4 separate regions of the Homo sapiens genome follow, and all the other regions are linked to region 2. The links are contacts of gene promoters, found by promoter capture Hi-C in blood cells and fetal thymus (Javierre and others, 2016). All regions are on one chromosome and are shown on one strand. Each heading gives the region's core, a stretch centred on a gene start or on the middle of the fragment in contact. The rest is flanking DNA. Distances are from core to core; before and after follow the strand shown. Region 1 has its middle 26 kb from the start of RANBP6. Region 2 holds the start of TPD52L3 (TPD52 like 3). Region 3 overlaps GLDC (glycine decarboxylase). Region 4 holds the start of LOC124902116 (a long non-coding RNA gene).

The links. Contacts are between HindIII fragments. The CHiCAGO score rates a contact against its expected background, and 5 or more counts as called.
Region 1: a contact is called between a fragment that was not itself captured here and the fragment with the promoter of TPD52L3 in region 2, in 1 of 17 cell types (endothelial precursors). The highest score is 5.0, in endothelial precursors.
Region 3: a contact is called between a fragment that was not itself captured here and the fragment with the promoter of TPD52L3 in region 2, in 1 of 17 cell types (endothelial precursors). The highest score is 6.0, in endothelial precursors.
Region 4: a contact is called between a fragment that was not itself captured here and the fragment with the promoter of TPD52L3 in region 2, in 1 of 17 cell types (endothelial precursors). The highest score is 10.4, in endothelial precursors.

Annotation. Positions count from the first base shown.
Region 1 is chr9:6,040,316-6,043,015 of GRCh38, forward strand. No RefSeq gene overlaps it. Among named protein-coding and RNA genes, the nearest start is that of RANBP6, 26 kb to the left of the region's middle. The HindIII fragment of the contact is 4,400 bases long and covers 1-2,700 here.
Region 2 is chr9:6,327,050-6,329,749 of GRCh38, forward strand. TPD52L3 (TPD52 like 3) reads left to right here and starts at 1,326. Exons shown (of 2, transcript NM_001001874.3): 1 at 1,326-1,913. The coding sequence starts at 1,547. It overlaps LOC107987046 (a long non-coding RNA gene), which reads right to left and starts at 1,219. Exons shown (of 3, transcript XR_001746614.2): 1 at 1,152-1,219. The HindIII fragment of the contact is 1,804 bases long and covers 65-1,868 here.
Region 3 is chr9:6,594,289-6,596,988 of GRCh38, forward strand. It overlaps GLDC (glycine decarboxylase), which reads right to left. Exons shown (of 25, transcript NM_000170.3): 9 at 726-831. Among named protein-coding and RNA genes, the nearest start is that of GLDC, 50 kb to the right of the region's middle. The HindIII fragment of the contact is 8,591 bases long and covers 1-2,700 here.
Region 4 is chr9:6,067,979-6,070,678 of GRCh38, forward strand. It overlaps LOC124902116 (a long non-coding RNA gene), which reads right to left and starts at 314. Exons shown (of 2, transcript XR_007061410.1): 1 at 176-314. RefSeq lists enhancers at 1,162-1,211, 1,222-1,281. The HindIII fragment of the contact is 2,699 bases long and covers 92-2,700 here.

The DNA of each region.
Region 1 (2,700 bases), core at 60-2,559, 290 kb before region 2:
TGAATAGAAGTGGTGAAAGTGGGTATTCTTGTCCTGTTCTAATTCTTAGCGGGAATGTTTTCAACTTGTCCCCATTCATATGTTGTTGGCTGTGGGTTTGTCATAATGGCTTTTACTGTTTTGAGATATGTTCCTTCTATGCCTAGTTTGTTGCGGGTTTTTAATCATAAAGGATGCTGGGTTTTATCAAATGCTTTCTCTGCATTTATTGAGAGAATAATATCATTCTTGTTTTAAATTCTGTTTATGTGGTGAATCACATTTATTGACTTGCATATGTTGAATCATCCCTGCATCCTTGGTATGAAACCCACTAGAACATGGTGAATTTTCTTTTTGATGTGCTGTTGTATTTGGTTTGCTAGTATTTTATTGTGTTGACAATGTTTGCATCTGTTTATCAGGCATATTGGTCTTTAGTTTTCTTTTTTCATTATGTCCTTACCTGGCTTTGGTATCAGGTGATATTGGCATCATAGAATGAATTAGGGAGGATTCCTTCTTCCATAATCATTTGGAATAGTTTCAGTAGGGTTGGTACCAATTCTTCTTCCTCTTCTCCTCCTCCTCCTCCTCCTCCTCCTCTTCCTCCTCCTTCCTCCTCCTCCTCCTTACTTCTTCATCTTCTCCTTCCTCCTTCTTTTCCTTCCTCCTTCTTCTTTCTTCTTCTTCTCCTTCCTTCTTCCTCTTTTCCTTCCTCCTCATTCCTCTTTCTCCTTCCTCCTCCTTCCTCTTTCTCCTTCCTTCTTTTTCCTTCTTCTTCCCCTTCCTCATCCTCCTTCTTCTCCTCCCCCTCCTCCTCCTTCTCCTCCTCCTCCTTCTTCTTTTTTTTCTTTTTTGAGAGAGAGTTTCACTCTGTCACCCAGGCTGGAGTGCAATGGCATGATCTCAGCTCACCGCAACCTCCGCCTCCTGGGTTCAAGTGCCTTGAACCCAGGCACTCAAGTGCCTCAGCCTCCCAAGTAGCTGGGATTACAGGGGTGCACCACAGCACCTGGCTAATTTTTGTATTTTTAGTGGAGACAGGGCTTCACCCTGTTGGCCAGGCTGGTCTTGAACCCCTGACCTCAGGTGATCCATCTACCTCGGCCTCCCAAAATGCTGGGATTACAGGCATGAGCCACCATACCCAGCCCGAATTCTTCTTTGAATGTCTGCTTGAATTTGGCTGTGAATCCATCTGGCCCTGGAGTTTTTGTTGTTGTTGGCATTTTTTTTCTATTGCTGATTCAATCTTACTGCTTGTTATTGCTCTGTTAGGGATTTTTATTTCTTCCTAATTCAAGATAGAAGAGTTGTATGATTCCAGGAATTTAACCATTTCCTCTAGATTTTCTGCTTTGTGTGCATAGAGGTGTGCATGGTCTTCTTGAATGATCATTTGGATTTCTGTGGTGTCAGTTGTAATGTCTCCATTTTCATTTCTAGTTGACCTTATTTGAGTTTTCTCTCTTCTTGGTTAACTAGTGATCTATCAATTTTGTTTATCTTTTCAAATAATAACTTTTTGTTTCATTGATCTTTCGTATTTTTTGTTTCCACTTCATTTAGTTCTGCTTTGATCTTTATTTTTTTTATTTTCTTCTGCTAGCTTTGGGTTTGTTTTTTTCTTGTTGCTCTAGCTCCTTGAGGTGTGATGTGAGGTTGTCAATTTGTGATCTTTCGGGCTTTTTGATGTAGGCATTTGGCACCATAAACTTTCCTCTCAGCACTGCTTCTGCTCTATCCCAGAGGTTTTGATAACTCATGTCACTACTGTCATTCATTTGAAGAATTTTAAAATTCCCATCTTGATTTAATTGTTCACCCAGAAATCATTCAGGAGAAGGTTGTTTAATTTCCATGTATTTGTATAGTTTTGAGGGTTCCTTTTGGAGTTGATCTCTAGTTTTATTCCACTGTGGTCTGAGAAGATACCTGATATAATTTCAATTTTTAAAAGTTTATTGTTTTGTGGCCTATCATATGACCTATCTTGGAGAATGTTCCATGTGCTGATGAAAAGAATGTATATTCTGCAGTTCCTGTGTAGAATGTTCCATAAATATCTGTTAGGCCCATTTGTTTTAGACTGAACTTTAATTCCAGTGTTTATTTTTGATTTTCTGCCTCAATGATCTATCCAGTGCTGTCAGTGGAGTGTTGAAGTCCCCTGCTATTATTGTATTGCTGTTGCACTCTTTTCTTAGGTCTAATAGTAATTGTTTTATGAATCTGGGAGCTCAAGAGTTAGGTGCATATATATTTAGGACTGTAACACATTTTTGTTGGATTGATTATATTATTATTGTATAATAACCTTCTGCAGTCATTATACACTAATAGCTACTCCTGCTTGCTTTTGGTTTCCATTTGCAAGGAATATCTTTTTTCACCCCTTTACCTCGAATCTGTATGAATCCTATGCATTAGGTGAGTCTCTTGAAGACAGCAGATATTTGGTTTGTGATTTTTTAAAATCCATTCTGCCAATCTGTATCTTTTAAGTGGAGCATTTAGAACATTTGAATTCAATGTTAATAATGACATGTGAGGTACTGTTCCAGTCATCATGTTGATTGTTACCTAGATACTTTGGTTTCTAGTATTTCTGGTATAGTTCATTGTGTTATTATTTTATAGGCCCTGTGACTTTTATGCTTTGAAAAGGTTCTATTCTGGTGCACATCAACTTTTTGTTTCAAGATTTAGAACTCATCT
Region 2 (2,700 bases), core at 76-2,575:
ATTCTCTGTCAAAAGGAATCAAGGCTTAATAAAAGATTTCATAGTATACACTGAAGGATGAGGAAGCTTATAAAGAAAATAGGCATCAAGGTTGGTGGTTGAAATAATACAGAGAAGTAAAATCAAGTGCAAGTTCAGATTTGGTGATTTGGAGTCTCAACTTTGAAGAGACAATGTGTGTTCTATATTATGTAGCATAATTCAGGGATTTCTTTACCCTTTAGTCTCAGGTTTGAAAGAGGAGTTCTGATTCAGAGTCTGGGAGTGTTCCTGAAACCACTAGTGTTTCTACAGGCAATAGAGGAAAAGTCTACCCTCTGGAACAAATTGGTTTTTAGGGAGTCCTTGCTGCCCTTTTCAGGCCTTTAAACACATAGCCAAATCCTCCATCAGCCTTCATGTTTACAAGAACAATTCTCACTTTTTAACTTAGGGAAACACACCACTCAGGACAAGGCAATAATAAACACTACTAAATTATGTGAAAGGGTTATAGAACATAAACTCAAAGGAGGGCTGAAGTTGGTTTGAATGCACAGCTGGATGCTTCATTGTAGCCACATAGGCATGAGTAGGGCAAACTGCTGAAATTTGCTGAGGATCAAATTATGTTCCACAAGATCATGCTCGCAAGAATTACAAGAATATCCAACAAAATCACTAGAGTCTAAGACTTGCTCAAGAATATTCTCTGAGAATAGGCAGCCATAGAATGAGCTAAGTGAAGCTCGACCACAAGACCTCACTGGATTAACGTCCTGATTTTTCCATTGCATAAGTTTACTCTCGGCAGAATTACGGTTGGGGGGAGGTTGGGGTGGCAGGTTGGCAGGGGAGAGTGGATCCACACTCTGATAGATCCTATTTAACTAGTTTTACTTTACTGTGCAGACTACCTCCCACAACAGGTAACCTTGAATGTAGGCAGACATGCTTCCAGAAATGTGAGTGGAGGTAGGGCGGAATAAAGAAAATGCAACTGCAAAACTGAAAATTCATACTAGCACAATGATGTTTAAATGATTTTCAAGTGTTGGAGCTGGTGTGGTGGAAAACAGTTGCCTGACGCTTTGGTTTGAAGGCCAGGGCTTGTCATTTACCATGTCAGGAGAAATTCCTCTCTTTTCGACAATAATCTCTGCACTGCCTACCTCAGGAGGTCCTCGCAATGCCAAAATGCCGCCAGTGTGGGTTGCGCCTCAGCTGAGCACTGATTCTACAGCCTCGCGGTTTGGGCGGGAAGTCCCACCTCCGCAACCCTGACCAGCCCGGCTCCCCACCCCCACCACCCGGAAGTGAACACCACGAGCTAGCGTGTCTACTTCACAGGCCAGGTCGTCAACTCAACTGTCAAGGTGTCCATTGTACCAGCTGGGCCATGGATCCCTCCCGCCTGAAATCTGACTCCACCTGCCAAGAGTCTGAGCCTGCAGGCCTAGATTTCGACTCTGCTGGCCAAGATTATTTCTCTGCAGCCCAATAATTCGACTCTTTCTACCAAGAATTGGACCTGGACTCTCTTAACGAAGATCTTCTTTCCCAGTCCATGCCACATGCCAGGACAGAGACCTCTGTGGGCACATATGAATCCCACTCGACTTCTGAACTGGAGGATCTGACAGAGCCCGAGCAAAGAGAGCTCAAAACCAAACTCACTAAATTGGAGGCTGAAATTGTAACCCTACGCCACGTACTAGCAGCCAAAGAGAGACGCTGTGGGGAACTCAAGAGGAAGTTAGGCCTCACCGCCTTGGTAGGGCTGAGACAGAATCTGTCCAAGAGCTGGCTTGATGTTCAGGTCTCCAACACCTATGTGAAACAGAAGACATCAGCTGCTCTGTCCACCATGGGCACTCTCATCTGCAGGAAGCTTGGAGGCGTGAAGAAGTCGGCCACATTCAGATCTTTTGAAGGTCTGATGGGGACAATCAAGTCCAAAGTCTCAGGGGGCAAAAGAGCTTGGCCCTGACTGTCTTTCTTCTGCGGAGGGTGGGGTTGATCTGCTCTCAGTTTTGGGGTGTGGGGAAGACCCACTCCAGATTCCGGGGAGTGGGAATGAGCCACTCCCAGTTCTGGAGAGTGAGGATGACCATCTCCACTTTCTGGAACCAGAATGAGCCCCCTTGGTAACCTTGCCTGGTACTAAACCAGTGCAAGGACCCCCTTCCCTTATTACATTTGCAACTCTGCCCAACAAAAACAAGCAAGCAAACCACAATGGTAAAGTGGTTAATTCAGGAAATTGACAGAATCCAGTTTTGAGAAAAGAACACAGATATTTGCTGCTTTTAAGATAGAGAACCCAAAGTTTTGTACCTGGTTATTTTTCACTTAAGTTTGTAGACGAAATGTGCCATTATATTAGCTTTCCTGAGACTGTATCTAATGGGCAAGTCAGTGGCTCCAGAGGGGTCTTAGGCCAAAGCCCAAACTCTCTTTTGGAAAACTAGCTTATTAGAAAGCCAAAGTAGAGTTCTGTTTAAGCTTGAAAGAGGTATGAAGTAATCTGTAGTGTTTTTTTGGTTTGTTTGTTTGTTTTCCCTTCCCCATTTCCTTCCTTCCCTCAGTCTCAAAGTCACCTTGAAAGCTTCACCTGGCCTACAACTTTTATTTTAAAAAGATGATCAAGAAAACTTCATCTTCTCTGAGACTCAGAAAAAGAGGGGAAAATAGTGGTAGTGCACTAATTGTTACATTACT
Region 3 (2,700 bases), core at 134-2,633, 270 kb after region 2:
TATTTTTCTATTAGGGTGTTCATCCTTCTTATGTTTGGGGCCGGTAGGAAAGTAAGAGTTCTACATATTAAAAATATCACAGCTTGCCAGGAGTAAAAGAGAAAAAAATATTAACACTCAGTCTAAGCCAGGCATGGTGGCTCACGCCTGTAATCCCAGCACTTTGAGAGGCCAAAGTGGACGGATTTCTTGAGGTCAGGAATTCGAGACCAGCCTGGAAAACATGGCAAAGCCCTGTCTCTACCAAAAATACAAAAATTAGCCAGACATGGTGGCGTGTACCTTAATCCCAGTTACCTGAGAGGCTGAGGCAGGACAATCACATGAATCCGGGAAGTGGAGGTTACAGTGAGCTGAGATCGTGCCACTGCACTCCAGCCTGGGAGACAGAGCAAGACTCCATTAAGCAAGGAAGCAAGCAAGCAAGCAAGCAAGCAAACAAGAAAGCAAGAAAGCAAGCAAGCAAGAAAGCAAGCAAGCAAGAAAAAAAGAAAGAAAGCAAGAAAAAGGAAATAAAAGAAAGAAAGAAAGAAAGAAAGAAAGAAAAAGAAAGAGAAAGAAAGAAAGCAAAACAACAAAATAATCATGGATGTTGAAAGTATTTTTCCTCGTTTCTCACTTGACTTTTAATTTTGCATATAGTATTGGACATGCAATATTTTCAATTTTACTCAAATTTATCAATTTTATTATGCCCAAATGTTTTAGACAGATTACCAACTCACCTTCTGACAAAATCAAAGTGGCATTATGTACCCTCCTAGCAATATGCTCCAGCCCATGGGAACCATGGTAGATTGCAAACATGGCAGCCATATTCGCCAAGAGGGCCTAAAAGATAAGAACATTTAAAGAATCACGTGATGGAGGACAATTAGTGGGAGGGTGTAATTACTTGACTTGGGATGTCAAAACTGAAGACAGCGACAAAACAAAATGATCAGATTTCCTACATTCTTTGATAGTTGGGGACAATTAATATATAACCTGCCTGACTACCTGAAAGGAACCATCATCCAAGACACCCTGGAGTTGTTACTATACTAAACCTTCACATTTGACCATTACGAAGGGCTTCTTCCATGCAACAAAATCATGTCACCCTTAAGGGCAAAGATCACACTACCATCAGACATTGAGAAGCAATGTTTAATGTTGGAAGACAGTGAAGCAATAAAGACCTCAGGGAGAAAAAGTGAGATCTGAGAATTTTACACTCAACCAGGCAATTCTTCAAGAATAAAAAGAAACAAGCAATTTTCAAACATTCAAGAACTTCAGGAATAAAATTCTCCTAAGAACTTAAATAAAACACTAGAGGCTGAACTTCTGCCAACCAAGAGTTGAATGGAGAATCTGTGGCAAAGGACTGGCAAAAACGGCAATGCGCACTTCAGCTGGGAGCGGGGTGGTGTGCAACTGTAGTCCCAGTGACTCCAGAAGCCGAGATGGATCACTTGAACCCAGGATTTCGAGGTTACAGTGACCTATGATTGCGCCACTGGACTCCAGCCCGGTTGACAATACAAAACCCTGTCTCTGCAAAATACAGTTGATGTTCAATACTGGGTCCATTTTGTTAGGTACATCTTTTTTTCTGCTAGACTACTAGAGGAAGTCTCTATGGAGCCAATGCAAAATAAGAAACAGTTTCCAAAGGTGAAGTCAGCAAACAAGGAAGTAAATGAGGAGAAAGAGACATCAGAAAACATGGAAGTAGGCATTCTTGTACTAAAAGTCCTAGACAAAGTGTAAACACTCTTATGGACTCCTTACAACAATCAGAAATAAACACAGAAACTCCACAGCACTTTACAGCTGTGGAAAAGGCGAGGCTGAGGTAAAGAATCTGTGACACACTGTGCCCAAATGCTCATGGCTGTGTTGCTGGAAACAGAAACCCAGGCCTGACATTCACAGAATGCCCTGGCAGCCTCCACCACAATATTGTAGAGGTTGGTTCATGTCCCTTTTTAATCTACAGATGATTCCTTCCATAATCAGGAGGCTATATCACACGGCTGAACAACAAATTGATGAGAAGTATAAAACCACTTTTTAAAAACTTCAAAGGGCACTAGAATATCAAAAGAAGAACCAAAAAAATTAAAATAGAGACCAAGAAAATGACAATTTCTTTCACAAATTGAACAAACTTAAAAATACAAAGGGCTTGAATCAGTGGCTCACGCCTGTAATCCCAAGACTTTGGGAGGCTAAGGTGGGAGGATTGCTTTAGCCCAGGAGTTAAAGACCAGCAAGAAGAACATAACAAGACCCCATCTCTAAAATAAATAAATAAAATAACAATAATACAATTAAGGTACTTAAAAGCCTCAAAAGCTAATGAATGCTCAAAATCATTAGTTATTAGGGAAATACAAAACAAAACCACAGTGAGATTATCACTTGACATCCAATAGGATGGCTATAACCAAAGGATAGGAAGTAACAAGCATTGGTGAAAATACGGAGAAATTAGAATATTCATATGCTGCTGGTAGGAAAGTAAAATAATGCAGCCACTTTGAAAAATGTCTGGAAGTTCCTCAAAATGTTAAATGTAGAGTTATATGACCCAGCAATTTCACTGCTAGGAATATAACCAAAAGAACTGAAAACATTACATCCATACAAAAATTTACACAGAAGTGTTCACAGCAGGCTTATTTGAAACACCCCAAATGTTTACCAATTGAT
Region 4 (2,700 bases), core at 191-2,690, 260 kb before region 2:
GGAAAGGATCTTTAAGTCATCTACATTTGGGTATAAATGACAGCCACAGAGTATTTACCCTTTTTGGGACGTAATTTTATCAGGAGACCAAAGCTTTTAGCTAAAAACATAAATTTCAAACATTAGGACAGTCATTTTACAGAAACAAAATAAATAATTTCAAAGAAACTATTACCTTCTTAAAGACTAGACTGCGATTGTGAACCCCTGAAGTATCCACAGATCCTGAAGAGTGCCCAGCTGTCTTGACAAGGAAACGGAGAGTCAAGAAGTTTAGTGAGGTCAACAAGAATCCTGCAGCATCTCATCTTCCAGATCTGCAGCAGCCTGTGTTGCAGTCCTACTAAGCTGAAGGCTTAACCATGTCTGCCAGTTCAGGGTACGGAACCCTGGTTACTATTTACTTTCCTTCTTTCTTCCTATAGTGGATATTCTCCTTCAGTGGCCACACAACATCAAAGATTCGCCTTCATTTTTGTATTTTCTACATTGTGTGTACTACCTTCTCAATGTAGAAGCCAGAAAACTTACACATGCTCAGATTCCTGTGTAGTTATAGTGCAATCATGTGACCTATTTTCTATGAATCATATGTATCCACATGAGACCAGGATTTCTTCAAGGGCAGTGTGACGAGATAGTCACAGACAGCGGGAGTGATCTTCTGGTACTTTATCCTGAGCATTATAGATGTTTAATGACAATGACAGTGACATTCCCCCAAAAGCACCCGCACCCCCGCCTTACCCAAAGTGTGGTCTGGGCACTGGGTTTGGCTATGTGGCCTCAGAGTCTGGCCTCTGATCCTCCCAGAGAATCTGTGAGCTATCAGTTATTGTTTAATGAATCTCTCCACCTTATTTTTTTCTTAGACTAGCTAGAAAGGATTCTGTTGTTTGCAGGCTAACAATATACTCCTGAAAGGCAAATACAGTCAGTAAAGGCCCATATCAGCCAAATCCCACCTTACATGTATTAGTATATTCTGAATTTTTCACTCATTAATATCCTGACTTCTGCTTTAAATCTATAGCCTTAACCTTGCACCACATGTCTTACATTCACTTTCTCTTTCCTATAAGGAAGTGGTGCTAACTGAATGACATGGGTGTCAGCAGAACATGCTGTGGCTTCACAACAATGGTTTGTAATATTATGAGATAGCTTTGTTCCTTTTCCTTTTTGTTTCTGATCTGTTTTTGTTTTTCAGGGAGATGAAATTGCTAAGGTAATCTTCAAAGGCAAGGCATCAAAATGGTCCTTTTTTTTTTTTTTTTTTTTTTTTTGAGACAAGTTCTTGCTCTGTTACCCAGGTTGGAGTGCAGTGATGTGATCATAGCATAATAATGCAGCCTCAGCCTGCTGGGCTCAAGTGATCCTCCCACCTCAGCCTCCCAAGAGCTAGGACTACATGTGTGCGCTAATTTTTTAATTTTTATTTTTGTAGAGTTGGGGGGGTCTTGTTATGTTGTCCAGGCTCATATAAAATCTTAGCCACTAGAAATACCATTTATGGCCAAAACCACATATCAAGGACTTGACCGCCCTTTCCCTACATGGGTGTTTCCCTGAACTGTTTTTTTTTGCTGTTGTTGTTTTGGAGACAGAGTCTCTGTTGCCCAGGCTGGAGTGCAGTGGCACAATCACGGCTCACTGCAACTTCCACCTCCTGGGCTGAAGCCGTTCTCCTGCCTCAGCCTCCCGAGTAACTGGGATTACAGGCCCGTGCCACCACACCCAGCTAAATTTTGTGTTTTTTTTGTAGGGATGGGGTTTCACCATGCTGCCCAGGCTGCTCTCGAACTCCTGAGCTCAAGTGATCCACCTGCCTCAGCCTCCCAAAGTGCTAGGATCATAGGTATGAGCAACCATGCCCGGCCCTGAACTGTTCTTAACCTTCAAAATAGCGAACAACGACCACTTCTAGCCTGACACCCAGTCCACAGGGAGACTCATGACTGTCTGCTCTCTTATTACTTAACAGCGATTGATTTTGAGATTGGGCAATGTTATGGGGATTGACTTATTGAGAATATTTTCTGACGTTTTCTTTTTTTGGAACTGCTTTAGAAGTGATAATGTGAACATTCTCCAATGACACATGCTTTTGCTGCTGCAATTATACAAGCGCAAACAACTGTTGCACTTGGATGTGCCCAGGACCTACAGTCTTCCTCTTTGTGCATGATATGTGGGAGCTCAGGCATGGAGAAAAATATCAGAAAATCAAAGTTCTGATGGGCTTTGAGAGGGCCAGGTTAATATACTTTTAGTTTTACTTCTGTTAAGATTAGGTTAAAAGTTCCATATTATCATCATCTTTAAGTGCTAATTATTTACAAGATTTCAATGAAGAATTCTAACAGAAGAATCCATATTTAAGATCTGCAGTAGACTGAATTAAAGGCCTAAATTCTTCATCTTTTCCTGTATCCATGCCATTTGCCACCTAACTTTTCAGTTTCTCCCTCTAAAGCAGGGTTTCTTAGTCTCAGCACTATTGACATTGGGGCTGGATAATTCTTTAATGTGGAGAGCTGTACTGGGCATTGTAGGATGTTTAACTGCATCCATGGCTTCTGCCTAATGGATATCAGTATATTACTCACCACCTGCGATTGTGACAACCAAAAATGCCTCTAGACATTGCCAATATCCTCCCGTGGGGGACAGAATCTCCTCTAGCTGGGAACTACCACT